Linked DNA regions of Homo sapiens: regions 2 and 3 are each linked to region 1. Evidence: promoter capture Hi-C in human tissues and cell types (Jung and others, 2019). All regions are on one chromosome and are shown on one strand. Each heading gives the region's core, a stretch centred on a gene start or on the middle of the fragment in contact. The rest is flanking DNA. Distances are from core to core; before and after follow the strand shown.

What was found. Contacts are between HindIII fragments. The study calls those that stand out against the background at their distance.
Region 2: the fragment with the promoter of AGFG2 here is called in contact with the fragment with the promoter of TAF6 in region 1 in 1 of the 25 tissues and cell types used here (aorta).
Region 3: the fragment with the promoter of TSC22D4 here is called in contact with the fragment with the promoter of TAF6 in region 1 in 1 of the 25 tissues and cell types used here (bladder).

What each region holds. Positions count from the first base shown.
Region 1 is chr7:100,117,766-100,121,258 of GRCh38, reverse strand. TAF6 (TATA-box binding protein associated factor 6) reads left to right here and starts at 1,901. Exons shown (of 15, transcript NM_139315.3): 1 at 1,901-2,055. It overlaps CNPY4 (canopy FGF signaling regulator 4), which reads right to left and starts at 1,625. Exons shown (of 6, transcript NM_152755.2): 1 at 1,397-1,625. The coding sequence starts at 1,514. RefSeq lists enhancers at 929-998, 1,369-1,588, 1,799-1,948. The HindIII fragment of the contact is 13,440 bases long and covers 1-3,493 here.
Region 2 is chr7:100,537,687-100,541,179 of GRCh38, reverse strand. AGFG2 (ArfGAP with FG repeats 2) reads right to left here and starts at 1,977. Exons shown (of 12, transcript NM_006076.5): 1 at 1,613-1,977. The coding sequence starts at 1,833. RefSeq lists silencers at 1,617-1,916, 1,967-2,246 and an enhancer at 2,126-2,627. The HindIII fragment of the contact is 17,077 bases long and covers 1-3,493 here.
Region 3 is chr7:100,477,256-100,480,748 of GRCh38, reverse strand. It overlaps TSC22D4 (TSC22 domain family member 4), which reads left to right and starts at 1,535. Exons shown (of 5, transcript NM_030935.5): 1 at 1,535-1,955; 2 at 2,442-3,472. The coding sequence starts at 2,711. TSC22D4-C7ORF61 (TSC22D4-C7orf61 readthrough) reads left to right here and starts at 1,535. Exons shown (of 6, transcript NM_001395846.1): 1 at 1,535-1,955; 2 at 2,442-3,472. The coding sequence starts at 2,711. RefSeq lists enhancers at 1,020-1,129, 1,830-1,899 and a silencer at 1,220-1,379. The HindIII fragment of the contact is 44,126 bases long and covers 1-3,493 here.

The sequences.
Region 1 (3,493 bases), core at 652-3,151:
GCTGAGGCAGGAGAATCGCTTGAACCCGGGAGGCGGAGGTTGCAGTGAGCGAGATTGCACCACTGCACTCCAGCCTGGGCAACGGCATGAGACGCTGTCTGAAAAGAGAAAAAAAAAAAAAAAAAAAAAAAAAAAAAAAAAATATATATATATATATATATATATATAAAATTAATACAATTGGATAATAATAGTATGTCCCTCATAGGAGTGTGATGAAGATTAAATAAATCAACATATATAAAGGCTGGCACATAGTGAGCACTGTATAAGTATTCACTGTTATCCTGCAGTTATTTATTGAGCTCCTTCTGTATGCATACTAACAATATAGACAGCAATAAGACCTATTATCTCTATCTACAGGTCTCTGTCAGTGTAGTTGGGACAGATAAACCAAGGATGACAAGCTGTGGTGAAGCTGGGCCTGAACTCATGGGCTCAAGTGATCCTCCCACCTTGGCCTTCCAAAGTGCTGGGATTACAGATGTGAGCCACTGTGCCCAGGCCCGTTGGCTGTATTCTGATAGAAGGCCTGCAGAGGTGTTAAAGCAAGGACTGATACAATTAGGTGATTAAGTCTGTTTAAAAAGATTGACAGGTCAGGGGAGAAGAGCGGCACACGGAGGTGAAAGGAGACAGAGATGAGGACCAAGTCATGAGACTGTCATGACTGCCTTTCATGATACTGGAATACAGTTGAGGGGGTGAAGCGAAGAGAAAAGGAATCCAGGGAAGAAACGTAAAGTCAGGAGGGCAGCAAACTAGGGCATCAGGGCCAGCCCCCTTTCTCAACTGGGCCCCACGCTAGTGCAGCTATGGAAGGCGCTGCTTGCTGAAAAATCCATATAGTACGCACCGTCTGCAAAGTCTCACCGGATGGGGACACTCTCCTAGTTGTGTGGCTTCCTTTTGTTTATGAGCTTCAAAGGCTGAATTACTCACCCTCAAACCCCCTCAGCGGGGTGTGGGGCCTGTAATTTGGGAGCGTCTATGCTAGGGTAGGGCAGCGGATGTCCACAAGGCCTGAGCCTCACACCCGGCTCCTGCAGCCTCTGCAGATTAAGGTCTGGTGACATGAGGTAAACACTCACTGAAGATGCTCTAAAAGTTGGCAGTCCCGGGCCGATGGTCCCTGAACTACAATTCCCACAATCCATTGGCGGGCGGGGGGTTCCAAGCCAGCCAAAAAAATGCAGGCTCTCTCTGGATGCAGTTTGAGGTGGCACTACACGTTCGCTTCCTTGACCCCATCCAAATTCAGCCAAGCTCCACCAGAACCTCCCTCAAGCCTTCAAGGAGGTCGGGTGACCCACCCAATACAGGCTAGGATGTCCGGCCTAGAAGAAGGAGGTGTGGCCGGGCGATGCCTATAGGGGCTACCCCCTTCAAATACCTTCGCATTTGCTGGGCAAGCGTTCTGTGTCATCGTCCTCCTCCTTCAACATCCCAGCCCAAGCCTCGTGCACGGCCAAAAAAAGGAAAAGCAATATTCCCAACCGCACAGGTCCCATGACAAAGCGCCGTCTACAAACAATCACCGCTTGCCTTCAACTTCGGGAAGGTAGTGTGGGTCCCTTAAATTCCCAGGCGGCTAGCGGCAACCTTAAATCCAGCCGAGGAAGGTCGGCGCATGCGCAGGATCAGCCCAACAAGGGTGGGGCCTCGTTGCTACGGGTTTCCCTGCCTCCGTTTTGTGGCGCCTCTTGAAGGTCCTGGCAGCCGGGTAGTGAAGGAATAAATTGCAGTAATTACACCAAGAGGGAGTGCTCCTTATATATAGATGTAGAAACAAACTTTTAAAATATAATTTCATTCTGCGAGCCTAGAGGACTTATTCTGGTACGGGGAAGGGGCAGTGACTTGCTCTTAGGCTCTGCCAGGACCTGCTCCCACGAGGGGGCGGGGCCAAGATGGCGCCGAGCGCCGGGTGAGCAGCGTCTCGGCTGCCGCTAGAGTTTTCCTGCTCCCCGCGCTCGGGTGGCGGGGGCGGGTCTGAGTGGTACCCCGGAGGAGACCCTTTGAAGGTCCCTTGTGGGGACTGGAAAGAGGACGGTTGGTTGTGTGTCTGTGCTCGTGGGGACCCCGTGTGTGTGCCTGCATTGGAGAGATGTTGCAGGAGATGGGGTGGGCTCTCTGAACCTCCTTTCGCGCTGCCCGGGGATCTTCGACCTGCTTCTCTGCTGGGATCTCGCTTAAGTTAACCCTTCCCTGGGACGCCTTCCTGCCGCCTCCACTGATCTGAGGAGATCCTGTGACTGTAGCGTGTTTTATGAGCCTTTACTGGCAGAGGGTACCGCCGGGTATTGAAGGATTCGTAGGAGTTCGCCAGGGAAGTGGGACACGACCCCCTCTTGTAAACCCGGCGCCAGGCACAGAGTATGTCTCGAATAGTTGTGTTCCCTATAGATAAGACTTATAAAAGTCGGGGAGGAGATCAGGGATGGTTTGAAAAGAACCAATTTGTTTTTCGGCCTCCCTCTTCCCATCCTTCCAGCACGGCCCCACCCTACCTGTACTACTCCTAAGCAGTATTGATATGTTAATCTTCCTAATGTCCAACTGCAAGTGTGCCACTTTAATTTTTTTTTGTTTTTTTTTTGAGACAGGGTTTCCGTCTGTTACCCAGGCTGTTGTGCAGTGGCACCATCTTGGCTCACTGCAGCCTCCAACTCCTCAGTTCAAGCGATCCTCCTGCCTCAGCCTCCTAAGTAGCTGGGATGACAGGTTCACACCACCAGGTCCGTCTAATTTTTTAATTTTTGCAGAAATGGGGGTCTCACTATGTTGACCAGGCTGTCTCAAACTCCTGGCCTCAAACAATCCCCCCACCTCTGCCTTCCAAAGTGCTGGGATTACTGGGGTGAGTTACCTCTCTTGGCTCCAATTTGCTTTTTTTTTTTTTTTGAGATGGAGTCTCTCTCTATCGCCCAGGCTGGAGTGCAGTGGCACGATCTCGGTTCACTGCAACCTCCGCTTCCTGGTTCAAGCGGTTCTCCCACCTCAGCCTCCCAGATAGCTGGGACTACAGGCGCCCGCCACCATGTCTGGTTAATTTTTGTGTTTTTACAAAAAGACAGGGTTTCACCATGTTGGCCAGGGTGGTCTCGAACTCCTAACCTCAGGTGATCTTCCCGCCTTGGCCTCCCAAATTACAGGCGTGAGCCACTGCACCTGGCTCCACTTTGCTTTTTTTGTTTTTTTTTTTTTTTTGAGACAGAGTCTGGCTCTGTTGCCCAGGCTGGAGTGCAGTGGTGCGATCTCGGCTCACTGCAAGCTCCGCCTCCCGGGCTCACGCCATTCTCCTGCCTCAGCAGCCTCCCGAGTAGCAGGGACTATAGGTGCCTGCCACCATGCCTGGCTAATTTTTTCTATTTTTTAGTAGAGACGAGGTTTCACCTTGTTAGCCAGGATGGTCTCAATCTCCTGACCTAGTGATCCGCCCGCCTCGGCCTCCCAAAGTGCTGGGATTACAGGCGTGAGCCACCACGGC
Region 2 (3,493 bases), core at 728-3,227, 420 kb before region 1:
ATATCAAACAACAAATGTTGGAAACCGCAATGCCCATATGGCACTGGATAAGTTACGAAACCTCTCTTTGCTTCTGTTCTCCCATCTGTCTTGCAAGAACAATAGTGCTCGCTCCCTGGCTCCTAAAGGTATCAAGACAGGGAAAGCTTTTTTTTTTTTTTTTTTTTTTGAGACAGTGTCTTGCTCTGTCGCCAGGCTGAAGTGCAGTGGCGCAATCTCAGCTCACTGCAACCTCCACCTCCCGGGTTCAAGTGATTCTCCTGCCTCAGCCTCCCAAGTAGCTGGGAGTACAGGTGCGCGCCACCACACCCAGGTAATTTTTGTATTTTTAGTAGAGATGGGGTTTCACCATGTTGGCCAGGATGGTCTCGATCTCTTGACCTCATGATCTGCCTGCCTCGGCCTCCCAAAGTGCTAGGATTACAGGCGTGAGCCACAGCGCCTGGCTGGAAAGCATTTTTTAAAAAACAAAACAAAAACAACAGTGTCTTAAAATAAGACTAAAAAATTGTCAAAATAAATCCCTTGACAAACTTATTAAAAAACAGAGATCCAGGCCTGATATCAGATGTTAATCATGCATCTAACCAAATAATATCTTAATTTGGGAGTAGGAGGAGTGCAGAGGGGAGTGGAGGGGGCTTTACTATATAACCAGAAATCTAGGCTAGAATTGTGGCTGTAAATTCACTCTGGCATGACCGAACAGTACCAATGCCAAGAGTAGCACTCAGATGATGCACCAAAGCCCCCCCAAAATCTAGAGTTTCCTGGATGCTACCACCAGGATCCAGTCATGGCAACAGGGATCTTAAAGGTGTAAATGATTAACCTTCAGGATGGCTCACCTAGACGTGCAAACGTTTGAAAAAGCTAAGCTCTCTACCAGGGTAACCCATTGGCTCTCATCTCTTAGATTTCGTAAGAGTTTTACCTTCTGGGTAACATTTCAAAGCCCTGCTAAGATTAGTATCTACACCTGAACTCTGGACCATGGCTCCCTTCCAGCCACTATCTCTAGGCTGTCAATCGGGGTTAATTCGCTTTTTTTTTTTTTTTTAATCCTGTACTCTAATCATAGGAATTTCAACCAAGTTTCAGCTGGCTTCTGCATCTCACACTCCAGCAGGGACACAAGCCCGAAGGAAGAAAGGTGCCCGTCCATCTCCAGGCCGGCTTTCCCCACCTTTTTCCTTTTTGCTTTCCACCTGCATGAAGTTCCCTCTAAAGGTGCATGTCATTTTCTGGCCCTTTAAGTCCCGACACCCCATCCCACTCCGAGTTCCCTTCCATCCTCCGCACTTTCTCCCTCCCCACTTGCAGTTTGCCTCGACCCCCTCGGGGAGTTTCTCGGTCCCTCTCCGGGCGTCTTTCTGCACCCGTACCCTTCTCTCCGCAGAGCGACTCCGGCCTTGCTTCCTCTCCCCTGCCCTTTCCCCTCCCCACCACACCGCTGCAGCAGACGACCCCGTCCCCACAGCCGGCGCGTTCCCTGACCTCCCCTCCGCCCCTCACCTCGGCCCCCTTCCCTCGCGCCCCGGAGCCCCGGCCTCCCCACCCCGCCCCCGGGTCCCCCCACGCCGACCTCGGCCACTCCCTCCCGGTCACTCACAGGAGGCCGGAGCAGGTGGTGCACACGAAGCTGCCCACGGTGATATCCACGTAGGTGACCCCGCGCTGGGCGCACTCGAAGCAGTGGCGGTTCCCGGCCTGGCTGCAGCCACCCAGCTCCCGCACCCGACGGCACCACACCTCCGAGGCCGCCTCCGCCTCCGCCTTGCCCCCGCTGACCCCGCCGCCCGGGCCCGGGCCCTTCTTCGCCGCCATCACCATCGCTGCCCACTCCCTCCCCGCTAGTCAGCAATCACCCCTTCAACCACTGCCGCCTTCCCGCCTCCTCAGCCGCCTCCGCACGCCCGGCTCCCCTGACAGAAGCTCGGGAGCGGGCGGCATCCGCAGGAGACTTCGCCGTCCACCACCCTCCTTGCCCGTCCTGCACACTGATTGGCTAGGTTTCTCCCACCTCCTTACTCCGATTGGCCCTCCCTGGGACGGCCTCCGGTTGCTGGAGCCGCCAATGCCCCGCCCCACCGCCTTCAGGCCTCAGGCCTCTCCTATTGGCCGGCAGAGACCCCAGCAGCGAGAACCGTGCGTGCCCTCTCCTTGTCCCCGCCCCCTCTCGCCGCTGCCTCCACCGTGGCCCGCCTCCTAGTTCCGATTGGTGAGTCCTCGGCACTCGGGCTCCGACGCTAATTTTGATTGGCTGGCGGGGCTGCAAAGTTAGCGCGCGAGACAGAGGAGGTGCCCCGCGCGTGCGTAGCTGTCGTCCTCCCGACTGATGACGTTAATTCCCGGCAAATTTCAAAGGCTTACTCTAGACTGTGTAGAGTGTCATGCAAAGCCGAAGAGAAGTGGCCATGTGAGGGGCTGAGCAGGAGGGGGAAAGAAGAGAGCGCTTAAGGGAGAGAGGGAGAGGGAGCAAGAGTGCTTTACTAGACCAGTGCTCTAATTCCTGAGCCACAGAGCGAAGGGAGTGCTTTATAAATGTCATTTCATTCGCTCCGCCTATCCCAGAGGTGGAATCCCCATTTTACACCCTTAGGTTCAACAACTTGCGGCAGATCACACGAGTGCGTGGCCCAGGATTCCACTCTGGGTCTTCCAACTTTAGAAACCCTGCCTTTAACCCTCCTAGTAGGTGGACTATTATTCGATTATTCATTTAACAAACACTGAGTGTCTGCTAGGTTTCAGGCACGTTCTAGACACTGGGAATAGAATACAGCAGCGAAGCAATCAAACAAAATATTCTTATAGAGCTTAGTTTCTAGTAGGGGGAAGCAAACAATACACAAATTAAAGAATCACCAGTTAGTAATAAATCCTACGCAGAGAATTAAAATCACATCTTGGAAAAGACTTTTTGGGTACTTTTTTAATTTTTTAATTTAATTTTAATTTTTTGAGATGGAGTCTCACTCTGTTGCCCAGACTGGAGTGCAGTGGCACGATGTCAGCTCACTGCAACCTCTGCCTCCTGGGTTTAAGCAATTCTCATGCCTCAGTCTCCTGAGTAGCTGGGATTACAGGCGGCCACCACCACCCCCAGATAATTTTTGTATTTTTATTATTATGATTATTATTATTTGAGATGGAGTCTCGCTCTGTCGCCCAGGCTGGAGTGCAGTGGCACGATCTCGGCTCACTGCAAGCTTCGCCTTCTGGGTTCACGCCATTCTCCTGCCTCAGCCTCCCGAGTAGCTGGGACTACAGGCACCCGCCACCACGCCTGGCTAATTTTTTTGTATTTTCAGTGGAGACGGGGTTTCACCGTGTTAGCAAGGATGGTCTCGATCTTCTGACCTCGTGATCCGCCGGTCTTGGCCTCCCAAAGTGCTGGGATTACAGGCGTGAGCCACCGCGCCCGGCCAATTTTTGTATTTTTAGTAGAGACAGGATTTCACCATGTTGGCCAGGCTGGTCTCAAACTCAT
Region 3 (3,493 bases), core at 286-2,785, 360 kb before region 1:
TTGAGCCCAGGAGTTCCAGGCTGTGGTGAGCTATGATCGCACCACTGCACTCCATCCTGGGCAACAGAGAGAGAGAGAGACCCTGTCTCTAAAAAAAAAGGCGGGGGCAGGTTGGGGGAAAGGGGAATAGTATAACATCTAGGATCTGATTTCAAATAGTCCAGCAAACTACAGCTGGCCCCCACACAATGTCATTTCATTGAATGTCATTTCATTATAACATTGATGATTTTCTAAAAATTGATTTTGGGCTGGGACCACCATCTGTGTGGAGTTTGCATGGTCTCCCCATGTCTGCATGGCATGTTTGAAAATTTTCATAATAATCCACTTTTTTTTTTTTTTTGAGACATGGTCTCACTCTGTTGCCCAGGCTGGAGTGCAGTGGCACAATCTTGGCTCACTGCATCCTCAACCTCCTGGGCTCAAGAGATCCTCCTGCCTCACAGCCTCCTGAGTAGCTGGGACTACAGGTATACATCACCACACTCAGTTTTTTTTTTTTTTTAAGATGGAGTCTCACTCTGTCACCAGGCTGGAGTGCAGTGGCGTGATCTCGACTCACTGCAACCTCCGCCTCCCAGGTTGAAGTGATTCTCCTGCCTCAGCCTCCCGAGTAGCTGGGACTACAGGTGCCCGCCACCACACCTGGCTAATTTTTGTATTTTAAGTAGAGACTTGGTTTCACCATGTTGGCCAGGATGGTCTTAATCTCTTGACCTCGTGATCCGCCCGCCTCGGCCTCCCAAAGTGCTAATTTTTTAAATTTTTTGTAGAGATGGGGATCTCGTTATATTGCCCAGGCTGGTCACGAACTCCTGGGCTCAAGCGATCCTCCCACCTTTGAGTAGCTGGAATTATAGGTGCACATCACCATGCCCAGCTATTTTTTTTTATTTTTTGTAGAGATGGGGTCTTGCTATTATATTGTCCAAACTGGTCTCAAGCGATCCTCCTTCCTCGACCTCCCAAAGTGCGGAGATTACAGGCATGAGCCACCACCGGGATCCGGCAATAATCCACTTTTAAAAATAAGGAATGGGGGGAATAATGCAGTTGCTGTGAAAACCAAAGGAGAATGACAGTAACAGCCACAGCTGCCCCACAGCAGGGACTGGGAACTTCTGGGTGGGCATGCAGCACACCTCCCGGCCTGTGCCTTCCGTCTCTTCTGTGTGTCTCTAGGCCAATGGCAGCAATTGACTACAAGTAAGGGAATCCCTCGCCTCCCTGCAAGCTCCTCCCCTTTCTCCCCGAGCCCCGCCCCCTGCAGCCCCTCCCTGCAAGAGTGGGGCTAGGGCCCGGCAGGTGTGGGGTTAAGGGAGTCTGTTTGGGGCCCCCAGGAGCAGCAGCCTAAGCAGTGGCTGCAGCAACTGCAACAGCAGCGGCTGTGGCAGGCCTGGCCCCGGGCCAGCTGGCGGGAAGCCCCAGGAGGGAGGGAGGGAGGAGGAAGGGGAGGAAGAGGGGAAGGAGGAGGAGGAGGAGGAGAGGAGCAGTCAGCAGGCCCGAGGAGGCAGGACTTCCTGGTGTGGGGGTTGTCAACAGCCCAGAAAGAGAAAGACGGAGAGGCAGAGACCCAGGGGAGCCGAGGAGCGGAGACACGGACCCAGCAGGGTCACGCGGGAGGAGACTCGGGACACCCACTCGCTGGCTGCCACCGGGAGCAGAGGGGGGCTCGGCCGCCCCCTCCCACATCAGTCTCCAGACCCTTGGGGCTTCAGAGGCCGCTCCTAGGCTCCTCGGAGGAGGCGCGGGTTTCTTCTTTTCCGGAGAGCAAACTTTCCTCGGAGATGCCTGGCAGGATGAGCCGCGGCCCCCGGAGAGGACGGGACAGCCTCTGATCGCCGCCTGCGTGCCCCGCCACTGCCCATGGCCAGGAGGCCCCAGGGAACGGACAGCCCGACCTCTTAGGCGCCGGGACCCTCAGGCTCAGATCAGTGGCCGAGGCCCCAGAGGTAGGGTTCAGGGCTGGGTGGGGCGCTGGGGGGTAGCCGGGCAGGGCCTGCCCCAGAGATGTGGGAGCTGGGGTGAGGGTGGGGGCTCGAGGCCCAGGAGAGGTCTCTCTGAGTGGCCGGGCCAGGCTGGGGAGCTGCTTCAGCCTGGTTCTCCCAGGCCCTGGAGTCCGAGCTCTTGGGACAATACGGGCCCCCTGAGTCAGAATCCCAGGCGAGAAATGCCCAACTCTGGGACTCATCTGCCTCTTTCTACTCTGAGTGCCTTCTTGGATCCAGTCCCCTCTGCCCTGGTCTCTGTCATCTCTTGCCTGTCTCTGGGTCTCTGACGGTTTCCCCTTCCCCCACTCTGCTCCCCGGAGAGGAAGCCCCGGAGGTGGCCTGCCCACTGGTTTCACACACACACACACACACACACACACACACACACACACACACACACACACTCTCTCTCTCTCTCTCTCTCTCTCTCTCCCCCTCTTTTTCCAGTTTGCAAACTCAGCTCTGGAGTTCAGCAGCAACAGCAGCAGGAAAAACCTGCCCCTGCTCCCCCCTCCCGCCACCTCCCCTCTCCTCTTCTCCCCTCACCCAGCAGGCACCCCCGGTTCCCGCCAGGCCCTCCTGCCATGTCGGACCCAGACGTCCCCAGGGGCTCGGATGTCCCCGCCATGTGGCCCCCTTGTTCCAGGGGTGCCTGAGCCCCTTCAAGGAGCCCCAACCCACCCCCAACCTTGGCCCAGCCCTGAGCCCCAGGGACCATGAGCGGGGGCAAGAAGAAGAGTAGTTTCCAAATCACCAGCGTCACCACGGACTATGAGGGCCCTGGGAGCCCAGGGGCTTCGGATCCCCCTACCCCACAGCCCCCAACCGGGCCCCCGCCCCGCCTGCCCAATGGGGAGCCCAGCCCCGATCCGGGGGGCAAGGGCACCCCCCGGAATGGCTCCCCACCACCTGGGGCCCCTTCCTCCCGTTTCCGGGTGGTGAAGCTGCCCCACGGCCTGGGAGAGCCTTATCGCCGCGGTCGCTGGACGTGTGTGGATGTTTATGAGCGAGACCTGGAGCCCCACAGCTTCGGCGGACTCCTGGAGGGAATTCGAGGGGCCTCAGGGGGCGCCGGGGGCAGATCTTTGGATTCCAGGTTGGAGCTGGCCAGCCTCGGCCTGGGCGCCCCCACCCCACCGTCAGGCCTGTCTCAGGGCCCCACCTCCTGGCTCCGTCCACCCCCCACCTCTCCTGGACCTCAGGCCCGCTCCTTCACTGGGGGACTGGGCCAGCTGGTGGTGCCCAGCAAAGCCAAGGCAGAGAAACCCCCACTGTCGGCCTCCTCACCCCAGCAGCGCCCCCCAGAGCCTGAGACCGGTGAGAGTGCGGGCACATCCCGGGCTGCCACGCCCCTGCCCTCTCTGAGGGTGGAAGCGGAGGCTGGGGGCTCAGGGGCCAGGACCCCTCCACTGTCCCGGAGGAAAGCTGTAGACATGCGGCTGCGGATGGAGTTGGGTGCTCCAGAAGAGATGGGGCAGGTAAGACCTGGGTTCTAGGGC